5 separate regions of the Homo sapiens genome follow, and regions 2, 3, 4 and 5 are each linked to region 1. The links are contacts of gene promoters, found by promoter capture Hi-C in blood cells and fetal thymus (Javierre and others, 2016). All regions are on one chromosome and are shown on one strand. The core of a region is centred on a gene start or on the middle of the fragment in contact, and the rest is flanking DNA. Distances in the headings are between cores, read along the strand shown. Region 1 holds the start of SPDYE4 (speedy/RINGO cell cycle regulator family member E4). Region 2 holds the start of PIK3R5 (phosphoinositide-3-kinase regulatory subunit 5). Region 3 overlaps MYH10 (myosin heavy chain 10). Region 4 overlaps MYH10 (myosin heavy chain 10). Region 5 overlaps MYH10 (myosin heavy chain 10).

What was found. Contacts are between HindIII fragments. The CHiCAGO score rates a contact against its expected background, and 5 or more counts as called.
Region 2: a contact is called between the fragment with the promoter of PIK3R5 here and the fragment with the promoter of SPDYE4 in region 1, in 14 of 17 cell types (naive CD8 T cells, naive B cells, total CD4 T cells and 11 more). The highest score is 14.4, in naive CD8 T cells.
Region 3: a contact is called between a fragment that was not itself captured here and the fragment with the promoter of SPDYE4 in region 1, in 1 of 17 cell types (megakaryocytes). The highest score is 5.1, in megakaryocytes.
Region 4: a fragment that was not itself captured here is called in contact with the fragment with the promoter of SPDYE4 in region 1 in 1 of 17 cell types (megakaryocytes); the score reaches 7.1 in megakaryocytes.
Region 5: a fragment that was not itself captured here is called in contact with the fragment with the promoter of SPDYE4 in region 1 in 3 of 17 cell types (megakaryocytes, erythroblasts and endothelial precursors); the score reaches 14.8 in megakaryocytes.

The regions. Positions count from the first base shown.
Region 1 is chr17:8,757,134-8,759,833 of GRCh38, forward strand. SPDYE4 (speedy/RINGO cell cycle regulator family member E4) reads right to left here and starts at 1,413. Exons shown (of 7, transcript NM_001394956.1): 1 at 1,141-1,413; 2 at 129-359. The coding sequence starts at 1,249. The HindIII fragment of the contact is 1,936 bases long and covers 1-1,873 here.
Region 2 is chr17:8,964,435-8,967,134 of GRCh38, forward strand. It overlaps PIK3R5 (phosphoinositide-3-kinase regulatory subunit 5), which reads right to left and starts at 1,273. Exons shown (of 19, transcript NM_001142633.3): 1 at 1,162-1,273. It overlaps PIK3R5-DT (PIK3R5 divergent transcript), which reads left to right and starts at 1,413. Exons shown (of 3, transcript NR_184080.1): 1 at 1,413-1,569; 2 at 2,333-2,700. RefSeq lists silencers at 1,197-1,516, 1,587-1,686. The HindIII fragment of the contact is 6,543 bases long and covers 1-2,700 here.
Region 3 is chr17:8,517,416-8,520,115 of GRCh38, forward strand. MYH10 (myosin heavy chain 10) reads right to left here. Exons shown (of 43, transcript NM_001256012.3): 20 at 1,466-1,535; 21 at 1,216-1,376. Among named protein-coding and RNA genes, the nearest start is that of NDEL1, 83 kb to the left of the region's middle. The HindIII fragment of the contact is 1,775 bases long and covers 498-2,272 here.
Region 4 is chr17:8,598,759-8,601,458 of GRCh38, forward strand. All of the region lies in intron 3 of MYH10 (myosin heavy chain 10), which reads right to left. Among named protein-coding and RNA genes, the nearest start is that of MYH10, 31 kb to the right of the region's middle. The HindIII fragment of the contact is 1,589 bases long and covers 544-2,132 here.
Region 5 is chr17:8,536,165-8,538,864 of GRCh38, forward strand. The region is part of intron 14 of MYH10 (myosin heavy chain 10); the gene reads right to left. Among named protein-coding and RNA genes, the nearest start is that of MYH10, 93 kb to the right of the region's middle. The HindIII fragment of the contact is 591 bases long and covers 1,128-1,718 here.

The sequences.
Region 1 (2,700 bases), core at 163-2,662:
CCTCCTCCTGCATGGAGCGCTCATCCCCCAGGAGGGCATATTCTTCTTATTGGGAAAGTGTGATTATTGAAAGATTCCACTTTTTTAAAAGAACAGGGTTGGAGGTGCTTTTTGGGGTATCCTCCTACCAAGGAGCCTGTTGAAGGCCTCGTGGTGCTCAGGGAGCACGGAGGATGCTCGCTTTCGCTTCAGCTTCATCTTGAGCCCACACAGCGTCTCCACCACCCAGGTGTCCTCGGGCTCAGGGGCGCGCTCCAACTCCAGCTCCTCCTCCAGCTCCTCCTCGGATTCGTCTGACCATTCGCTCTTCCTTTTCAGGCCAAGGGATTGAGGCTGGGGGCTGGGATCTATCCAAGGGGCTGAGTGAAGAAACCAGGCCATGGTGTCATGTTTCTGCCATTGATCACCTTAGACGCCCCGACCCAGGAACCTCAAACTACTCTTCCATCCTCCCAAGCCTCGCAGACTGTCAGCTTCTCCAAGCCATGTTTCCACCTTTCTCCTTTGCTGATCCCCATCTGCCTCTCCCTCACCTCCCCATTCTTCCGGCTCTCTGTCCTCAAAACATTTCCTCATCACAGATAAGAACTTTCAATTGGAGAAAAATGGAAACCTTCCCTTGAGCTCTGTCTGCTCTCTCTCTCTCTCTCTCTTTTTTTTTTTTTTGAGATGGAGTCTCCCTCTTGTTGCCCAGACCGGAGTGCAGTGGCACAATCTTGGTTCACTGCAACCTCCGCCTCCTGGGTTCAAATGATTCTCCTGCCTCAGCCTCTTGAGTAGCTGGGACTACAGGCACGCACCACCATGCCCAACTCACTTTTGTATTTTTGGTAGAGACAGGGTTTCATCGTGTTAACCAGGATGGTCTCGATCTTCTGACCTCGTGATCCGTCCGCCTCGGCCTTCCTCTCTCATCTTTTGAGCACATCTCCTGACCCCCTTCATTGCTCCCCAGACTTTCTTTACACGTGGCCATGCTTGGCCCCATTCCCTGCACCCTCCTTCCCCGATCCCTGGCTTCCTGAGTCCGTCGTTTCTTTCCCACACACCCTACTCAGGTGCTTCAGATTCCCAGTAACTGGCCCCCTTCCCTCTCCTCAGTCAATCATCTCCCATCGCTTCTCCCTCCAGTCACCTCACCTGATGGTCCTGGCACTTCATCATCCACCACCACCTCGGGGGACCGTACCGTTGTGCTAGGCTGGGGGCTCTCCTCCTCAAACGGGGGGCGCGCTTGACCACTGGCCATAATCTCTCCCAAACACTTTGTTTCTGTCCACAAAACCTAGTCCCTGTTCTGTCCAAAGCCTTCTTCCAGACTCCGTTAGGACCCAGAAGAGTGCGTTTCTCTTCTAGAGGCTCGGGAGAAGTTAGGAGTGAAGAGTAGTTCTGAGAAGTTGCTGTTGTCCACCTGAACTCCCAAGCAACCAGAGTCCGGTCCTTCCAATCAGGAAAGTCGGAATCTCTGATGTCATCGGTCATTCCAAACTGGCAACTACTTTGAAGAAAAACACATGTAACTGCCAGACTGATCTCTTTTCTTGGAGATCCGGGGTGAACGGTATCTCCTGGCAATGTCCCAACCTCTGAGCATTGTCCAAAAGCATCCTCAGGGTCTCCACATTCCTCTTTTCCCTGTCCCAGCAGAGGCTGTGTCCTCTCCACTCTAAACTTGAGGGGGTGTTGGGCTCTCCTCCCCGCTTCTCCTTCCCATTTCAGAGTCTAGTCTGGTGAGAGAGGGAGGAAGGTGGAAGGAAATTTAGGGTAAGCAGAATGATGAGTCCTTCCAAGAGTGAGATTAACATATACAGGAGATCCTGGGTAAATTGACTTGTTGAATGGAGACGTTACGTCGAAGTACTCAATGTGGCAAAGCTTTTTTGCTGAATGTTTACTGATATTCACTATCCTGGATCCTATAGTAGGGGAACATGCATCCTTTGCTCTCAGGCATCTTTGAGTCCAAGAGACATTTTGAGGAATGAAAATCACAGGAGACTGTCCATGGTTTCGTACAGATTTTCAATGGTGTCCACAAGTTCAGGGCATCCATGGATCACCTAAAGCCTGCCCTCCAGTTCAGCTAAGGAACTCTGGTCTATATATCAACTATTACAACATATCTATTTCACTTGACCCCAAAATTTGCCTACTATTTATGTATTTTATGAATAAAATATCCTGTGTATAAAAAGACTAAGGGGAAAATCTCAGCCAGGCCCAGGGGCTCCTGCTCATAATCTCCCTCCTTTGGGAGGCCAAGGCAGGGCGTCACTTGAGGTTAGGAGTTCAAGATTAGTCTGGGCAACATAGCAAAACGTCATCTCTACAAAATATAAACAAAGTAATCAGGAATCGTGGCACACACCTGTGGTCCCAGTACTTGGGAGGCTGAGGCAGGAGGATTGCTTCAGCCCAAGTGTTTGAGGCTGCAGTGAGCTATGATTGCACCACTGCACACCAGCCTGGAGGACAGAGTGAGACTCAGTCTCAAAAATATTTTTTTCGGAAAAAATAAAAATGTAAGAGCTGGATACTATCTCAGATACCATCCAAAGAACCTGTGAGTTCTGGCACAGCTTCCTAATGGGCTCCTAGGAGTCTCTCGCTGATGGGAAAGGCACAACTGAATGAGGAGGCAGATCCCGTCGCTGTGGAAGTCCAATTGTTAGGAAACTCTGCTTACATTGAGTGGACCTT
Region 2 (2,700 bases), core at 23-2,522, 210 kb after region 1:
ATGACAGCCCATTTTATGAATCAGGAGACTGAGGCTGGGTTGGGGGACAGTGTGATGCTGCAGGTCACACAGCTGGATCCGGTTGGAACTTGGGTCTCTTTTCCACATCATGCATGGTTCCCAAGCAACGGCTTCAGCATCATCACTTAAGGAGCTCATTCAAAGTTTTGAAAACTACAGATTCCAGATCCCATCCCTGGAAAGCCACGTTGTAGGGTTGGCTCCAAGAGAGCCCTACCTGCAGTCAGCTCTGGGAGCCAGTGCCTTACAGGTGGTCCTGAGGGCAGGAAGGAAAGTGTGGGGTGGATGAGAAGACACAGAAGGAAAACGAGGGTGTCAGTCCAGAGAGGACCTTGGAGGCAGGCTTGGCCTACTTTTAGCCCTTATTCTGCCTAAACCCACCCCTCCTCTCTACTCCGAGTCTTGTTAACTCGCTTTATACCACATCCTGCTGCTTTAACCTCGCCTTCCTTTTCCTTCTGAACAATCTCCTTCCTCCTACTGACCTGAACTTTTTGTGTATTTACCCCAGGCCGGGATGGGCCAGCACGCGCACATGCGCATGCCCACACACACACACACACACACACACACACGAGTCACGCGGGGATGTCCAGTGTGTAAACACAGATCCTCTGAGAGCAGAAAGCGTGCAGTTCTCTAGGACAGCAGCCGCGTCTGGGCCCAAGGCTGGCTAACTAGCAGGCTGAGTGAGGCTCGACGGAGGGCGCCTTACGCGGGCACTTCCATGACTCCCAGGTTCTGACGGCACAAGAGCCCTGATGCCCACGCTCACGGACAGTTCCCCGCTGGAGCGGGCAGGGGACCTGACCCTACGACACAGGGCGTCCTGTGTCAGAGGCAGGAGGCTGAGGACACAGCTGCGCAGAGCCGCCCAGCAGAGGTTACCCGGATAACGATAAGTGGTCCCCGCGACGCCCCTTAAGTCTCTGGGGTTATCTGGAGCGCAGGTTTGCAGACCCGCTGCCCCCGCGGTGGGCCAGGTCCACGGGGCCGGAAGATAGCAGGATCTGTCCAGCCCTCGGGCTGCGGCGGCTGCTCGCGGAGCCCACTCTCCCCGACGGTCCCCAGCTTGCTCCAGCTCTGCCTGGAGCTCCCATGCGTGCCCTCCGCATCCGCCCTGGCCGCCCAGTCACACACCTGCAGTCCCCGCCGGGCGCCGAGCCCCTCTCCAGCGGCGACTCCCTGCGATTCGGGTGACCGTCGGGACCACCGCGCCCCAGCTGGAGCCGCGCGGCGAGCCGCAGCATCTGCCCAGCCTGGGCTCCTCCGGCGGGCGGGGCGGAGCCTGTCAGGGGGCGGGGCCTAATGGGGCGGGGCTGACCGCGGAGCCGGCCTCTCCAGCCACCTGGCGGCCCGGCAGCGTCAGCCAGGTGCGCGCCCGGCCCCACATCCTCTGGGTCACGCCCCCGAGGCCGCAAGGCGTCTGAGAAGCAGCCCCGGCTCTGACCCGCCAGCCCTCGGAAGAAGCAGACCCTGGCCGGTCCATGGCAGTGGCCCGAGGGGCACCAGCGCGGAGCACCAGCGACCCCCAAGGAGTAAGGGGAGGTTAGGCCCCCGCGTCGGAAGCGCGGCTTTGGCCCCGCAGGAGGGCTGGGCGGAGCAGGGGGGCAGGTCTGGGGTAGGGGCTTAGGGGAAAGACGAGAAAGAGGAAGCTCCGACGAGCTGCTTCCTTCTCTCACTGCGACCCACTTCCTCTTCCTACTTCTATTTTCTTTCTTTTTTTTTTTTTTTTTTTTGAGATGGAGTCTCGCTCTGTCGCCAGGCTGGAGTGCAGTGGCACGATCTTGACTCCCCACAACCTCCGCCTCCCGGGTTCAAGCGATTCTCCTGCCTCAGCCTCCCGGGTAGCTGGGACTACAGGCGCGCGCCACCACGCCCAATTTTTTGTATTTTTACTAGAGACGGGGTTTCACCATGTTGGCCAGGATGGTCTCGATCTCTTGACCTCGTGATCCGCCCGCCTCGGCTTCCCAAAGTGCTGGGATTACAGGCGTGAGCCACTGCGCCCGGCCCCTACTTCTATTTTCTTTGGGTGCCCTTAACCCTTAAAATGCCTGCACTACTGCTGTGCAGACGGGCACCTTGACCCGCATCCTTCTGCAGGAACCTTCATAGAAATACCAGCCAGTCCCGGCGTTCAGCACTGCTGTTCCAGCCTCTGGCTGGACTTCCCGCCCTCCCTGGCCGGCACCAAGGCTACTGTCACCTGAGTGGTTTCCCCAGCCCCTGGGGAAGGGAGTGAGGGTGTGCGGGAGTTCCTGCCTCCAGGGTCAAGGCCCTCTTCTTGCCTCCCCCTTTTCTCCCCCAGACGACGTTGCAGATGATGCTCTACCAAGAGTTGGAAGGACTCCCCAGGGAATCCCACAAGACACTGCGCTTCCTATGCCTCCTTTCCCTCGTTTAAAAAATGGGGATAAGAAGGTTGGCTACTGCTCCGACAGCCCTCACAATGGAAGAGTAGCACTTCATTTGTGGGTTAACAAAGGGCAACGCTGAAATCTCCACTTCCACTATTGAATGGAACTGTGTCATAATATCTGTTAGAGGCGTGCAAACTCGGCCACAAGGTCATGGTCATACGTTATTGTTGGTCAAAAGCCGCAGCCCTACCTGAGGCTTTGAGAGATATGAACACCAATGACTTTTCTTTTCCTGACTCCCGAAATACCAAGAAAA
Region 3 (2,700 bases), core at 135-2,634, 240 kb before region 1:
CAGGTGTTCAGATTCTGTTTGCTCAAAACTGTCTGGATGGCAAACTATTCAACCTGTCTCAAATTCTCTCACTCCCAAACCCGAAGTGTTCAGTAGAAAGAAGTAAATACCAGTATTACCTTCTAAATCCAAATCAGTTCTAAGTCCTTTGAATTCTATCTCAAATTTAACAACTTTTCTCTCGTTCTCCACCACCACCTTCTTGGGTCCAGGCACCATCATCTTCTACCCAAATCACTAAGACAGCTTCCCAACTGGCCCTCCCAATTCTATTCTTGGCCAATTCTCAATGGATTCTGCCTACCGCAGCCAGGCGGCCTTGACAGTATAGATTCCCCCTCACTGCACTCCTAACCCCTGTCCAGCGTCTGATTCTCAAGCCTCTTCTCTCACCTTGCTCCCTCTCACCCATCCTGCTCCAGCCACACTGGACTGTGTCACCTTCTCAAATGCTGCCAGACTCTTGCCAGGATGCTGCTGTAGTTCCCTTACTGAAAAGCTTCTCTCTCCTCCCTTCACAGGGCCAGCCTTCTTACCCTTGAGGTTTCAGCCTCAGAGAAGCATTCTCTGAGGACTTGAGCTGAAGCAGGACCCCATACCCCTTGGCCCCGTGTGTGTGTGTGTGTGTGTGTGTGAGAAGCATTCTCTGAGGACTTGAGCTGAGGCAGGACCCCATACCCCTTGGCCCCGTGTGTGTGTGTGTGTGTGTGTGTGTGTGTGTGTGTGTGTGTGTTTGAGATAGGGTCTCACTTTGTCACCCAGGCTGGCATGCAGTGGTACCATCTTGGCTTATTGCAGCCTTGACCTCCTGGGTTCAAGAGATCCTCCCGCCTCAGCTCCCACAGGTAGCTGGGACTACAGGCGCATGCTACCAAGCCTGGCTAATTTTTGTATTTTTAGTAGAGATGGGGTTTTGCCATGAAGCCCTGGCTGGTCTCGAACTCCTGAGCTCAAGTGATCTGCCCACTTCAGCCTCCCAAAGTGCTGGGATTACAGGCCTGAGCCACCACGCCCAGCCTCCTTGTGTGTTTTTGTATTGCAACATCCCATTACTTAGAATGTTCATGTATTTACCTGACTATCTCTGCCACTATAAAGCAACTTCTGTAAGGACAGACTATGTCTCACACACTCTTGCACCCCAGGTCAAAATGCAATGCTTATCTAGCACAAGCACTTCCTCAGTGAACGATTAATTCGTGAATACCCACTCACTTTCTGGCCAGGTAACCTCTGCAAACGGCCTGGAAGAAGATAATGATATCGGTGATTTTTAAATCTCTTTCTTCCTCTAAGTGTGCCAGAACTCCAGCTCTGAAAAATATCTTGCTCTGTCCAATTCTGTACAAGTTTGGGTCCAATTCTAAAGCCCGGATCTAAGAGAGAAAGAGTTTATTTACTTTTTTTAACTACAAGAAAGATTAGATTAAATCTACAAGCCAGAAAAAGATCAAGAAAACCTTACCATTCGTTCACAGGCCTGTTTACCATCCATAAAACCTTTAGGAATAGCATTTGGAGTTAGGATCTCATATCTGTAAGAGAATATTCCAAGAAGTATTTTGTAGAAATTTGTGAACGATGTGTATCTACTAACTGTGTGTTTTGCTCTAAGAGGCAATAAAATGTTGGGTAATACATGTTAAAGATATGATGTAATACATGTTCAAGAAATGAACTGGTGATAATCTGATGTTTTCTGTAGATCTACTTTATTTCTCATAAGTAAAAATGAGGTTAGTTCTTTCAGGTCAAAAAGTAGGTTTAGGAGGTTGTGGCAGAGAAAAATCAAAAGCATGGTGTTTTAGAAACCTTTCATTTTTCTTCATGTCCCATAAAATGTTCATATCCTTAAGACGCAAAAGAGAATCTGGCTTTCTGTACTTTAAGTCACTGTCAATTTGTAGCATTTATTAGATAACAGGAAGGGCTGTAAGAGCTGTGTTCATAGGCTTCTATTCAAAACATCAGAAAATATCAGGGTGACATGTGACATGACGTTGGTCTGGGTGTATACACATACATATGTTCACTGAGCTGCACATTTAAAATCTGTGTACCTCACTGTATACAGTCTATACCTCAATCAGAAAAATAAAAGATACTGGCTATATATTAAAGGAGGAATCCTGGCTACATCAATCAACTTTGTATCTTGGATGCCAATTATACTCCCTTTTTCTCCTAACAATAAAAAATGAAAATCTACCAGACTTCATCATACAATGGGATCAGAATGATGGCTTTCCTCAAGACACACATGGACTGGAAAAGCTTCTCAAGGTGATTCTATCTGGAACAGTGGGAGAAAGGGCACAAAGACCATTCTTTGACCTGGCAGCACCATTTATTTCATGGAACAGCAAATGGTGTCATACTTTCAAATCTGATTTCCAGAAAAAAGAAGAAAAAAAGCAAACTAAAAGTAACTATTCAAGAAAATTACCAAATAAAAGTTAAAAATAACTCTCAACATATGTTTGTATCCATTTCCACTGCAAGTTGATAGATCTTTTCCCTTTTGTTTTTTCTTAATCCTTTTCTATCTACTCCTTTCCCTATGTTAGCTAAAAGACTGTAATTGCACGCATGTGTGTGCACATGTATACACATACATTGGAAAAAATACATACACATACACACACACATACAGATATATTCATTGAGAAAAGATGGAAAGAAGTACCCCAACATGTTTTT
Region 4 (2,700 bases), core at 88-2,587, 160 kb before region 1:
TGCAGTGGCATGATCTCAGTTCACTGCAACCTCCACCTCCCAGGCTCAAGCAATCTTCCCACCTCAGCCTCCTGAGTAGCTAGGACTATAGAAGCATGCCACCACATCTGGCTAATTTTTTTATTTTTCGTAGAGCTGGGGGTTCACCATGTTGCCCAGGCTGGTCTTGAACTCCTGAGCTCAAGTGATCTGCCCACCTTGGCCTCCCAAAGTCCTGAGATTACAGGCGTGAGCCATGGTGCCCAGCCTGTTGTAGTGATTTCTAAAGAATCTGTAAGTTTTGATTTCCTCTTTTACCAAAAGCCACATAGATGAGTGATTAATAACAAAACATTCATACTCATTAAACACACTCCCACAAACACTAACCCATTTGGAAATCTTTTTATTGCTAATATCTTGTCTTATTGCACTGTGGTCAGAGAATGTAGCCTGTGATTTCTTCTTTCAGGAACTGAGATTTTTATTGGTGGCCTGCTATATGGAATAGACACCACATTTGTAAATGTGCTTTCTGCTTGCATACATACATTTTTCAATATAAGCTTGCTAAGTTGTATTAAATCACATTCTTTAATATTCTTTTTTTCCCTACTTAATATGTCAAATTCTGAGAGAAGCATATTAAAACTCCCTCTATAACTGTGGTTCACATTCTCCTTACATTTCCAATAGCAACTGTTTTAAATATTTGATGCAATGTCAGTGATGTACATGTAAGTATTATCTGTCTCTCCTAGATGACTACATCACACTATTTCTATCTTAAACCACCAATCTCTCCTCCCTCCTCCTCACTCTCAGCTGAAACCCTGCTTCATTTTCACAAGCTCCTGCCAGCAACCATATCTGCCTACCCATCTGCAACACTGTTTTGAAAAATCTGGCTGTAAAAGGAAGGTGGAAGGAACTAACTTTCTTATTTAAAGTAACGGGTAAAACTTTAGCTAATAGGGAAAATTTATTGCTAATGTTAGGAGCCTATAAAAAGAGAAGCAGAAGATACAGTCACAACCCAGAATAATCAACACCATGAGATTCTTAAGAAGGTTAAGAGGATGTGATCAGCATCAGAGGTGAAGGACTAGGTAAGACCAGCCTTTGACAGGAGTAGACACAAGAGATAATGATCTGTTCATCTAGCTGGGGCAGTTTCTCTGCAGTGCCTCTGTGGAATGGGAAACAAGCCATCAGCCAGGGAGTAGAGGGGCAAGGAGGGACCCAGAGATCTGGAGCCTGCAGAGGTTTGAAATAGTCATTATGGAGAGTGGGAGGACCAAGGTAGGATTAGCAAGAGTTGAGTGTAGAATCAGGGCTCACGGTCAGGAAATTACAGTGGTATTTATCTGTTCCATTATGTGAGCATAACTCCAGAAGCATCAGCAACCCAAGTAACAGCATTAAAAGAGACAAATATCTTGATTCATCCAGCGTGAGTTTTACCAAACAAGAATAACCAATGAACAACGGGACAAGGGAGGGGTTTAGGAAATGGGTAGAAGATGGCCATGAAATCTAAATTATACAAGGCAGAAAGTGAAGGGTGTTGTTAACATATAGGGGGAAAGTAAAACAAGTAATGGGCTGGGGATCCACATGAAGTCAAAGAACACATTTAGGAGATTGGACTCTCTTCTCCTAAGAAGTCCAATCTTCTTGATTGGACTACCAATATGGAAGGATGCTGCATTAGAACTACTGAAACATTATCTGAAAAGTCAGTTAATTCTAAAAGATGGCAAAGTCTAGAGCATCACCATAGATGTTGGTGGCATAAGTGAGAGACGGAGGAATTCATATGAAGGACCTTACGATCAAGGGACTTGACTGTTCATTAAAAACTATGAAGTAACACAGGGCAATGGCAAGGCTTGAGGCAGAGAGGAAACAACGTGCTGGGGCCCATCATGGAGTGAGAGAGGAACCAAGAAGAAAGCTGCTGAAAGTAATGAGTGGTGATGGAGGTGCGGCTTTTCCAAGGCAGTAAAGGAGTAATGGTTTAGCAGACACATAGACACAGTGTTAGTAAGGACACTAACCCTATCTCCCAGTGCATAGGATTTGAGTGATGGAGCACTCTTCACTAAATGGACTCATACCCCGTATGTGGGGGAAAGCCAAGTCTCGGTTAAAGCTTGAAGGAAAAGAAAATATTCACTGAAGATACTAAACATACAGAAAGTTTGCACATCAGAGAGTGGGAGTTACCTAAGGCAAAAATGAAAAGGGAGTATTATGGAAATGAAAACATGACTGGAAACACAGTGAATTTCATTCCAGGATTCCATGAAGATGGTGGACTCTCATGTCTTAAATTTTCATTGTGGCCTAAAAAAGTGGCCCCTGCAGGTATTGTTACAGCAAGCAAAACTTTCCTTTCCATCTACCCAGGTCAACCGGGGTTGGTAGCAGTGTTGGTTGCCTGCTGCTGAATGGAAGCTACCTGGGGTGGAACTGGGCTGGTGAGGCATCAGGAACAAAGGAAGACAAGCCACAAGGTGGTGAGCCTCACTGTGGGTACTCCTAGGTGACCTCAGATGATTATGTGCAAGGTAGAGGCCTCGGTGTTCCTAAATTCAGTTCCTAACACACAGTGTTGCAAATGAGAAGCCCGATGCTACTGACTCCCTTTCCATGTCATGTTGCCCTATCCACCAAGGTATGCAAGATGAAGCGTATCTCCTTTCACTATTTCCACCC
Region 5 (2,700 bases), core at 173-2,672, 220 kb before region 1:
AATACTGTATGTAAATTGCAAGTAAATGAATTCCAAGCAGATGGCCCCACAAAAGTGGCAAATAAAAGAAGCCAGAAACGCAGTGGGAAGTGGAGAGATGAAACTGAATGTTCATGTTCAGTGACTGGCTGGAGAAATCATTATAACACCTCAACTAATGAGAATGCTTCAAACATTTTATATCCTAATCAGTTTAAGTTTCTGTTTAAGTAATTTTAAATTAAATGTATCACTTTATATTTGGCGAAATATTTTAAACTATTATTAAGTAGAATATATGGAAATTGATAAACTAAGTCAGTCATCAATTGCCTTATATATTTGTTTTAACAGGCATTTGACAACCCATTTTATGTGATGCAATTATTACTTCATTGAAAAAAAGTAGCACTTTGGGAGGCCGAGGCAGGTGGATCACGAGGTCAGGGGTTTGAGACCAGCCTGGCCAAGATGGTGAAACCCCGCCTCTACTAAAAATACAAAAATTAGCTGGGTGTGGTGGCACATGCCTGTAGTCCCAGCTACTCAGGAGGCTGAGGCAGGAGAATCGGTTGAACCTGGGAGGCAGAGGTTGCAGTGAGCCGAGATGGTGCCATTGCACTCCAGCCTGGGTAACAGAGCAAGACTCTGTCTCAAAAAAAAAAAAAAAGCGCTAGATGAATCCATAGAGACAGAGGGTAGATTAGTGGCAGCCGGGGATTGAAGGAACAGAATGTGGAGTGACCACTAATGGGTATGAGGTTTCTTTCTGGGGTGATGAAAACGTGGCAGGATTTGGTAGTGGTAATGGTTCCACAACTTTGTGAATATACTACAAACATCACTGACTTGTAGTTTTAAAAGGGTGGATTTCATGGTTTGTGAATTATGTCTCAATTTTTAAAAAGGCCTAGAGCTCACCATTGTCTGGAGTGACTTCCTTTTTGGAGGTAAATGACACATGAAAGCTAAATAAGATATTTAAATAGTGATGGTCTATTTTCTAGTGCTTCTGGGCCATCATTTATTGTCACACTGCAAATATGGCAAGTGTGTGATACAAAACTGAACTCGTACCAGTTCTAGGGCACACTCATGAAATCAGCTGTTTGAGTAAGACTCTAAGATCAGTTCTCATCAACTCACAAAGCTTTCATATTTACTGGCAAAGAGTTGGCAATACACACAAATGCTGTTTTTAAAAGTAGCTAGAGGCTATGGTTAAATATAAATGAAACAGTGTAATAAAGTGGTCAGAGAAAGGGATGGGTGATCTGAATGCCAGCGGGTGGAAGCTGAGGGAACCCTTCTGCAATGGAGACCCTTACCCCAGGGCTCCTCCACCTGAAAGAATTGTCAGGGTTTCAGATCAGCTAAAAAGAAGACAGTAATCTGAAGCAACTGGGATTAGGTCACTTTAGAGGAGCTCAGAGTGGCAGGTAACTCAATCCACCCTAATCACACAACAACTGTGAGAAAGGAAGTTCCACATTAATATTAATATAACAAAAACATCCTCCTTTTACCCTTTTACATTCTTAACCACTTTTAATGAGAATTTTCCTAAATTCTGACACAGTATCTCAAATAAAAATTTGTATTTTTTTCTAAATGACTTGGTGACAGCATGATCATGAATATCATTACTGTGTCTCCTTTTCATTTTTTCCACTTCATCCTTCAATGTCAAGATCTCTATTATCATTCCTTCTCTGAACCGGGTATTTCCAAGAGCTGTAAGCTTAGAAGCCTGTGTTTCTGAATATTGGTCATAGGTTTTGTGAAAGCTTGTGAACTCAGAGGCTTGCCTGCCACCAGCCCACAGTCTGGCAAGGCAGGGGCTGGGATTATGCGAGATGAGCTAAGCCTGGCACGGGCCTGTCAGGTGCCACCACAGAGGATGTTTTTACAGCATTTTCCTTCTAGAAAGTATTGTTTTCACTCTCCATTTTGCAAGGAACATCAATGGGATCATTATCCCATGTCATTCCACAGGCTGTCGTTAAATTCCCCATCATCATAAACTCTCATGGGGTTTACAAAATGTTATGTTTTTATTTTTTATTATTATTATTTTTTGAGACGGAGTCTCGCTCTTGTCCCCCAGGCTGGAGTGTGGTCACGCGATCTTGGCTCGCTGCAACCTCCACCTCCCGGCTTCAAGCGATCCTCCTGCTTCAGCCTCCCGAGTAGCTGGGATTACAGACAACCGCCACGACGCCTGGCTAATTTCTTTTTGTATTTTTAGTAGAGATGGAGTTTCACCATGTTGGTCAGGCTGGTCTCGAACTCCTGACCTCAAGTGATCTGCCCGCCTTGGCCTCCCAAAGTGTTGGGATTACAGGCGTGAGCCACTGTGCCTGGCCATGTTTTTATTTTTTAATCAGATATTTCTATGAATAAGTAGAATAATCCTCAAATTGAGGTAAAGAGTGAGTCAGCATTAAATCTTGAATTCCTTCCCTCCCCTTTCTGAGCTATCTCTCCTATAAATTAGGACTATTTAGGCAGGGAATAAAGGGTCCACTCTAAAGGCTGAAGGAAGAGCCTAGAAGTGCCAGTACAAAGAGGATAGGAAGGAAAGAAGGAACGAGTTACCTAGTTCTACTCATTGCCCGTCAGTGTCTGGGCATAACTGGTGACTAGGAACATCATGACTTCCCAGCTCCAATACTTTCTGAATGCCCTGGCTGCTGTGGTTTCAATGTGTTCCCTGAAAGT